2 separate regions of the Homo sapiens genome follow, and region 2 is linked to region 1. Evidence: promoter capture Hi-C in 16 types of primary human blood cells and fetal thymus (Javierre and others, 2016). All regions are on one chromosome and are shown on one strand. Each heading gives the region's core, a stretch centred on a gene start or on the middle of the fragment in contact. The rest is flanking DNA. Distances are from core to core; before and after follow the strand shown.

What was found. The method cuts DNA at HindIII sites, captures the fragments that hold promoters and counts their contacts. A CHiCAGO score of 5 or more calls a contact.
Region 2: a contact is called between a fragment that was not itself captured here and the fragment with the promoter of FAM9C in region 1, in 1 of 17 cell types (non-activated CD4 T cells). The highest score is 5.5, in non-activated CD4 T cells.

The regions. Positions count from the first base shown.
Region 1 is chrX:13,042,686-13,046,099 of GRCh38, reverse strand. It overlaps FAM9C (family with sequence similarity 9 member C), which reads left to right and starts at 1,480. Exons shown (of 8, transcript NM_174901.6): 1 at 1,480-1,560; 2 at 2,243-2,371; 3 at 2,852-2,972; 4 at 3,151-3,182. The coding sequence starts at 2,311. LOC105373133 (a long non-coding RNA gene) reads right to left here and starts at 1,367. Exons shown (of 4, transcript NR_171577.1): 1 at 1,251-1,367. The HindIII fragment of the contact is 8,868 bases long and covers 1-2,742 here.
Region 2 is chrX:13,644,341-13,647,852 of GRCh38, reverse strand. No RefSeq gene overlaps it. Among named protein-coding and RNA genes, the nearest start is that of TCEANC, 7.0 kb to the left of the region's middle. The HindIII fragment of the contact is 5,934 bases long and covers 1-3,512 here.

The sequences.
Region 1 (3,414 bases), core at 231-2,730:
CTTCTTTCTTAATGTTACACATCTTAAGCTCGAAAGAGAGAGAAACCTGAAGCAATCATGGCTTAAAATTCCCCAAGATGTCTCATTGGCTAATTTGGGTACCAAGTAGATTGTGGGGAAATGGGGACAGCTGGTGGTATTTAGTGTCAGTAATTAGGGATTCTCTTTAGGTTATAGAGAACTCTTAGATATAAAGGTGAGCTGCCTTGTCAGGGAAAGATGGCTTCCAACCCAGCTGTGGAAATAATCGGGCTGGGCACGATGGCTCAAGCCTGTAACCCCAGCACTTTAGGAGGCTGAGGCGGGCGGATCGCTTGAGCCCAGGAGTTGCAGACCAGCCTGGGCAACATAGTGAGACCTCATCTCTGCAAAAAATAAACAAAATTGGCCAGGAGCGGTGGTTCATGCCTGTAATCCTAGCACTTTGGGAGGCTGAGGCGGGCAGACTGACTGAGCTCAGGAGTTCGAGACCAGCCTGGGCAACACGGTGAAACCCTGTCTCTACTAAAATACAAAAAAAAAAAAAAAAAAATCAGCCAGGCGTGGCGGCGTGCGCCTATAGTCCCAGCTACTTGGGAGGCTGAGGCAGGAGAATTGCTTGAACCAGGGAGGCAGAGGTTGCAGGAAGCCGAGATCGTGCCACTGCACTCCAGCCTGGGGACAGAGTAAGACTCTGTCTCTAAAAATAAATAAATAAATAAAATAAAATTAGCTGGGCATGGTGGGACATGCCTGTAGTCCCAGCTACTTGGGAGGCTGTGGTGGGAGGATCCCTTGAGCGCGGGCAGTTGAGGCTACAGTGAGTAGTGATTACACCATTGCAGCCCAGCCTGGGTGACAGAGCAAGACCCTGTCAAAAAAAAAAAAAAAAAGAAAAAAGAAAAATGAAAGAAAAGAAATGACCACATCATGAGAAATCTAGACATAAAGTCTTTAACTTTGTATATCCACTGCAGAATCATGCAATGCCCAGTGTGAGGGAATGGAGTAGGATAGGAGAAAACTACCTGCCCCTGCTGGGAGTCAACAATTTTCTTAGATAAAACATAAAAGCACAATCCATTGATAAAAAGGATGCAGCTGGGCGTGTTGGAAGCACACAGGACATGGGAGGGAGCCTGGGCTCCACCCGCAGGGTGATGGCCATTCCACCCAAAGGGGCAGGAGTGGCTGGAACGAGCCTGGGGGCAAGGTCCTAGGCCCCGTTCACTTGGCCTCCATTCCTTAGGGCAGGGTCCCCTGGCACTCACCACTCCCGAGTCCTTGCTTCCTTCACCAGGATGAGGAGCTGGAATATCGTGGGGACAGAGGCCTCAGAGAGCCACCCAATGAGTCCACAGCAGCCATGGACAGTCCGTGAGGGGGAGGGTGTGCCTGCAGGGGGCGTGGCCCCATGCCGCCCGCCACCTGCATGCGCACTGGGCCGACCAATCAGCGAGGAGCGCGGGCAGCCGGGGCGGCTGCTGCTCTCGTGAGAACAGAGGACCCAGGCCCTCGGAGGAGCTTCGCGGTGCCAGCCTCTGCAGGTCCTCTGAGGGAGCAACATCAGGGCTCCCTCAGGTGAGACGCCCTCGGTGGGGATGCGGGGAAGGCGGGCCAGAGGCCCTTTGGGGAAGAGGGTGTGAAGGGCGGGGCAGCCAGGCTGATCTGTGAGGAAATGGCCCAGGCATTGTCGCCTGGGGCCTGGGTCAGGGCAGGGAGTTGGAGCTGCCTGAGTGGTCCCCAGGACCCAGGAGGGTCCCGGAGGCCTGTGCATGTGTGCAGCGTTTGGGGGGGGGTCGGGGGGTCAACGTGGGTCCGTCTTGTCTGGCTGCCCATCAGGACGGGATACTTGGGGTCACCAGGGGTCCCCTGGGCGTCCAGGCTGGCGAATGGGCAGTCCCTGCCCCTGTCAGAAACAGGTGCGTACCGGCTCATTCCCATGGAGATGGCTGGGGAGATCCTGTGTCACCCCGCGGCCCTCCCGACTCCACTGGGTCGCTGGGGAACCCAGGGGCAGGGCCAGGCTCTGTCCCAAGGGCACTGCAAGAATCCCGCAGAGGCCGCGGAATTCTGCGAGCTCTGCAGCCAGCCCCGGGGAAGCGCTGGACGGGCCAGGACAGGAGGGGATGATGGCATCTTCTCCGCGTCCCCTCCTGCTCCCACGGGAGACCCGGGGCGCCCTTGAACCTGCGATCCTGATGATTTTCATTTAACACGCCTCGTTTCCTTAGTGTCCTTAGTGTGTCTTTGCACTCACCAGGTTCAGAGGTCGCCTCTAGCTTCCCAGGCCAGTCAGCCACGGAGCCCGTGGGCAGGAAGGGCAGCAGGATGGCTGCCAAGGACCAGTTGGAGGTTCAAGTTATGGCCGCCCAGGAAATGGAGCTTGCAGGTAAACACAGCCCAAGGGGACCTAGAAGAAGGTGCACGCCCAACAGTCTGTCTGCTTTCTGGGCGGGGCGCACATGGGCAGCCCGAGGCCCCCGGCCCCTTCGTGGCTTTGGAGCTCACCGTGCATGTGCTGAGATGCCCCAGGTTTTCAAAGCAGGCTCAAGGGCCTTAGGCTTCCCGTGGGAGGCTCCCCCTCATAGCAGGGTTACAGATGCTCTCAGAGCAGCTCTTCTCCATGGATGCGGTCCTGACATCCAAGGGATCTGACCTGTGAACGTTGTTTACTGGGACTTGAACCCGAAGGGCTTCCAAAAATGCCTCCGTAAAATGGTTAGGAGCCGGCGATTCCATGTATAGCTCTGCGGTAAAGCTTTAATTGGCGGAGAGCCAAAAAAGTCTACAAATAGTACGTTTCTCTATGAAAAATGTCCACAACAGCGTCTTCCTCTAAAAAAGGTTTGTCTTTTTTATTTTAATGCAGGAAAGGATCCAGTAAGTCATGAGCATGAGGAAAGAAAACCTGTTACAGAGACAAAGGAGGGAGATGTAACTGATGAGCATGGGGAAAGAGGATCTTTTGCTGAAACAGATGAACACACGGGGTAAAGTGTTTAAGTCCCTTTTGCCTGTCAGATAAGGTCTTTTAGGAAAAGTCAGCTTTGGATCATGTCATCACTGTTATGTTCTATGCAGAACATTTCACACAAGACATTTCTTCCCAACAAACAAGGCCTTTTGTGTAGCATTATGTTAAAATTGTGTTGCAACTTTTTGTTACAGGGTTGATACCAAGGAGCTAGAAGATATTGCAGGTATGTTTTACGAGCTATTTGTGGTTTATGAAAATTGTTTTCAACCATACAACCCTTACAGTAGGTTATATGAATTAGTGGATGACAAGACTGTCTTAAATGCCTTCTTCTCATATATAGCATTTAATGTAATCTGTTTAATAATTTTTCTTACTTACTTTTTTAATTGTTGATGTGGAATGTGAGAATGCTTCTAATAATGGTGAAGCAAGAGGGGTGGCTTTTCTTTCAT
Region 2 (3,512 bases), core at 482-2,981, 600 kb before region 1:
GACTGACACTATACACACCACCCACAGCTGTCCTTTCATGATATGACCTGGCATGCTGCCAGGAGGGCCTATTTATCAACAGTGACAATATAAAGGACAGCCATGTTCTCTTCTTAGTCTTCAGTGGGAGACACATTTGGCCAGAAGTATACCGTTCTGATTTACAGTGCCCAAGAGAAGCGCTTTGCCATTTCAGCCTCATTTTCTCACAAAAACCTAGTACATGGAGTTGCTGCACTATTTGGCTCATATAATAATGTTTTTTTTAAAAAAAATTTTAGTCATTTATTTTTGAGACAGAGTCTCACTCTGTCACCCAGGCTGGAGTGCAGTGGCGTGATCTTGGCTCACCGCAACCTCTGCCTCCTGGGTTCAAGCAATTCTCCTGCCTCAGCCTCTCGAGTAGCTGGGATTACAGGCAGGTGCCACCACACCAGGCTGATTTTTTTGGTATTTTTAGTAGAGATAGGGTTTCACCATGTTGGCCAGGCTGGTCTGGAACTCCTGATCTCAAGTGATCCACCTGCCTCGGCCTCCCAAAGTGCTGGGATTACAGGCGTGAGCCACTGTGCCTGGCAATAATGTTTATATTAGTTGTTCTTCATTTCAAACCTTGACTCAGACCCCACCTAGGTTTCTGGTTGCTGAAGAGAATGAAGTTGTCAACTCTTTTGTCGTTATGAGAGTAGATCTATTACACTGGTATGTGGCCTGGGATAATTACATGTACTCGATCTCAGATTTGCATGATGGGGTTCATTCACATGGTGGGCTTTGGTGAGTTTGGACCACCCAGCTTCAGCACACCTTCCAAACAGCCAATCAGGTGCCTATTCTGCCCTAGCCAGGTGGCAGCCAGATGACCCCAGCTGGCCCGATTGCACATCCTCCCTGGAATGTGAATTTTAAGCAGAATGATGTGGAGTCTAAACATGGTGAAAGATCATTAAGATGAGGGTGGTGTCCTTATGAGACCATTCCTCCAATGGCTCCTTTCCCACAGTTCTGCTTCTAGCCCAGCGGCCCATTTCCAAAGCTGGCTGGCTGGTCTCTCCCTCCACCTGTACATTCCTGCTATCCTTACTATAACTTCCCTCTGCTGGGTCTGTTTTGGTGGCTTGCTAACAGTAAACACTAACTGACACAGCCTGTCTTAATATGGCTGTGTGATTTGAGGGACATCAGAAGAGAACCCCTGACCTTACCATGGTGCTAGAATTCCTTTCTTACTCATTCCTTTGGATGAAGACATTGAAAGCTGCTATTATAAAACAGCAACTATTACTTAGGAAAGGTTACACTTGAAGCTGTTTATTTGCTATGCCTGAGTTATATTGTAAGGATCGTCTCCCTTGTCAGAGACCAATGGAATGGGACATAGGATAAGTAAATGTTGATGGGGAGAATTGGGAGGGAATGAAAGGTCTGCAAGATTGGATTCTTCGAGATCTTAAGGGTGACTGAATTGGAAGGTTCTGGGTACCCAGAAAGAAGCATGAGTTCATAAAACACCAGGGAGGAGAAGAAATGGAGCAAAGAGGGAGTAGGAGGAGATCCTGGAAACAGCTCTGCTGTTTGCCTGGTGGCAGCCACACACATGCAGTCACAAGGGGGCACTGCTGGAACTCTGAGAGAAGACTCCAAAAAACTGATGCAAGTGGAAAGCCGTTCACATTCATCAGGAGAGCTGGGTGAGGATAGCCTGGACTAATCCTAGGAGGAAAAAGACTTTTAAAAGAAGTAACAGGGATAGAAAAGGGAGACGTAGAAACTTCCATCATTGTCCAGAAAGACTAATAGATGTGGGGCAGGTGAGAGTTCCAGGCTCTTGAGCAGCAGGAATATTTCCTCAAACTTCAGCCCCTGGGCCCGTTGAACTTCCTCTCCAGATTCCCATGCCATTCACCTCCAGCAGCCTGGATGGCAGGCCAGTGAACACCCACAACAAAAGTCATCCGTGGCTGGATTATACCTGAGTCTGTGTAGCTTCAGCCACAACCTACCTGGCGCTGAGAGCTGAATTCACTCTAGGTGTCCCGAGTCATTCAGCACAATGTCAGACAGAAGAGGTTCATCTTAAGGGGTAGGGGGAGTAATACTTTTATTTTTGAAAGAAGTTCTTACTGAAGTATGACACATATATAGAAAAGTCAGTGTACAAATCGTAAGTGTACTGCTTGTTAATTTTCACAGTGAACATGTCCATTCAAAAGGCACCATGAAGCAGAATTACCAGCCCCCCAGAAATTCTCCCCTTGTGTTCCCTTCCAGCATCCCGCCCCCACCACGGGTAAAAGCATAAACAGAATCCCAACTTTACCGCTATAGATTAATTTTGCCTGATTTTGAAACTTAAGTAAATGGAAGTGTACAGTATGTACTTTCTGGCTTCTTTTGATCAATTACATATTTTTGAAATTTGTCTGTGTTGCTGTGGGCAGCGTTAAGCTATTCATTCTCATGTCTTCATAGTCCTTTATTGAATGAATACACTACAGTGCATCCATTCTAACAATGGACATTATGGATATTTGGGTTGTTCCACTGGGACTAATACAAATAGTGCTACTATTCATTTCTATTAGGTATATACCTAGCAGTGGAATTCTGGGTTGGTAATGCTATTTTTGGTCATAAATGATGACCAAAAATTTTAACCATAAATTGACAATGCCAAGTCTCTTGTATGATTTGTGTACCTGAAAAAGGCAATTTCAAATGTGTTTTGAGCAACATTGTCATTAAAATAAATATATAGGCCGTCAAAGAAATTATTGAGAAAGAAAGGGTAATTAGCTCTTACCTAATGACATTCAGCACTCTTAGTGGCCACAGAGTGGAGGAAACCAAACCAAACAAACAAATAAGACAACATAGAAATGTAAAACAATTTATATGACACTACCAAATTGATTAAAGATATACACAAGATAATTATTTTGGTCAAAAATATGCATATGTAACCCCTCTATCTTATGCATATGTAACCTTTCTGTCTTAAGCCCACTTAGGGGCAGCTCTTTCTGGCCCCAGGCAGACTCACCACCACACCATACTACTGCCTCCCAAGATGTAAGTCTATACTACTGCCTCCCAAGATGTAAGTCTATACTACTGCCTCCCAAGATGTAAGTCTATTTTACATCTATAAATCATTTTACAGATTTTTTTCATGTGCATATTAATACTAGAATTTTTTATGAAGCATAGATATGACATTTAAAAATGCCAGATTTCTAAAAAGGTCAACCTAGAACCCCATTCTCCACACACAAAAAGGACCCTTGCTTGTATGTACAAAAATCCCAAAGTTCATATTACCTTACCATTCCTTGACCAGACAGAATGATGAAGCTGCATCTACACAACTCCAGGACAACACTTTGAATAGAGACAGAACACAGCTATTTAGTATCTGTAGTCATGGTCTGATGGAATTAAAGAGAAAAAAGGTTGAGTTCATTTACGTTGGTTTTTTAGATGTTGACCCAGTCTAAGCCTTTTTGACATTT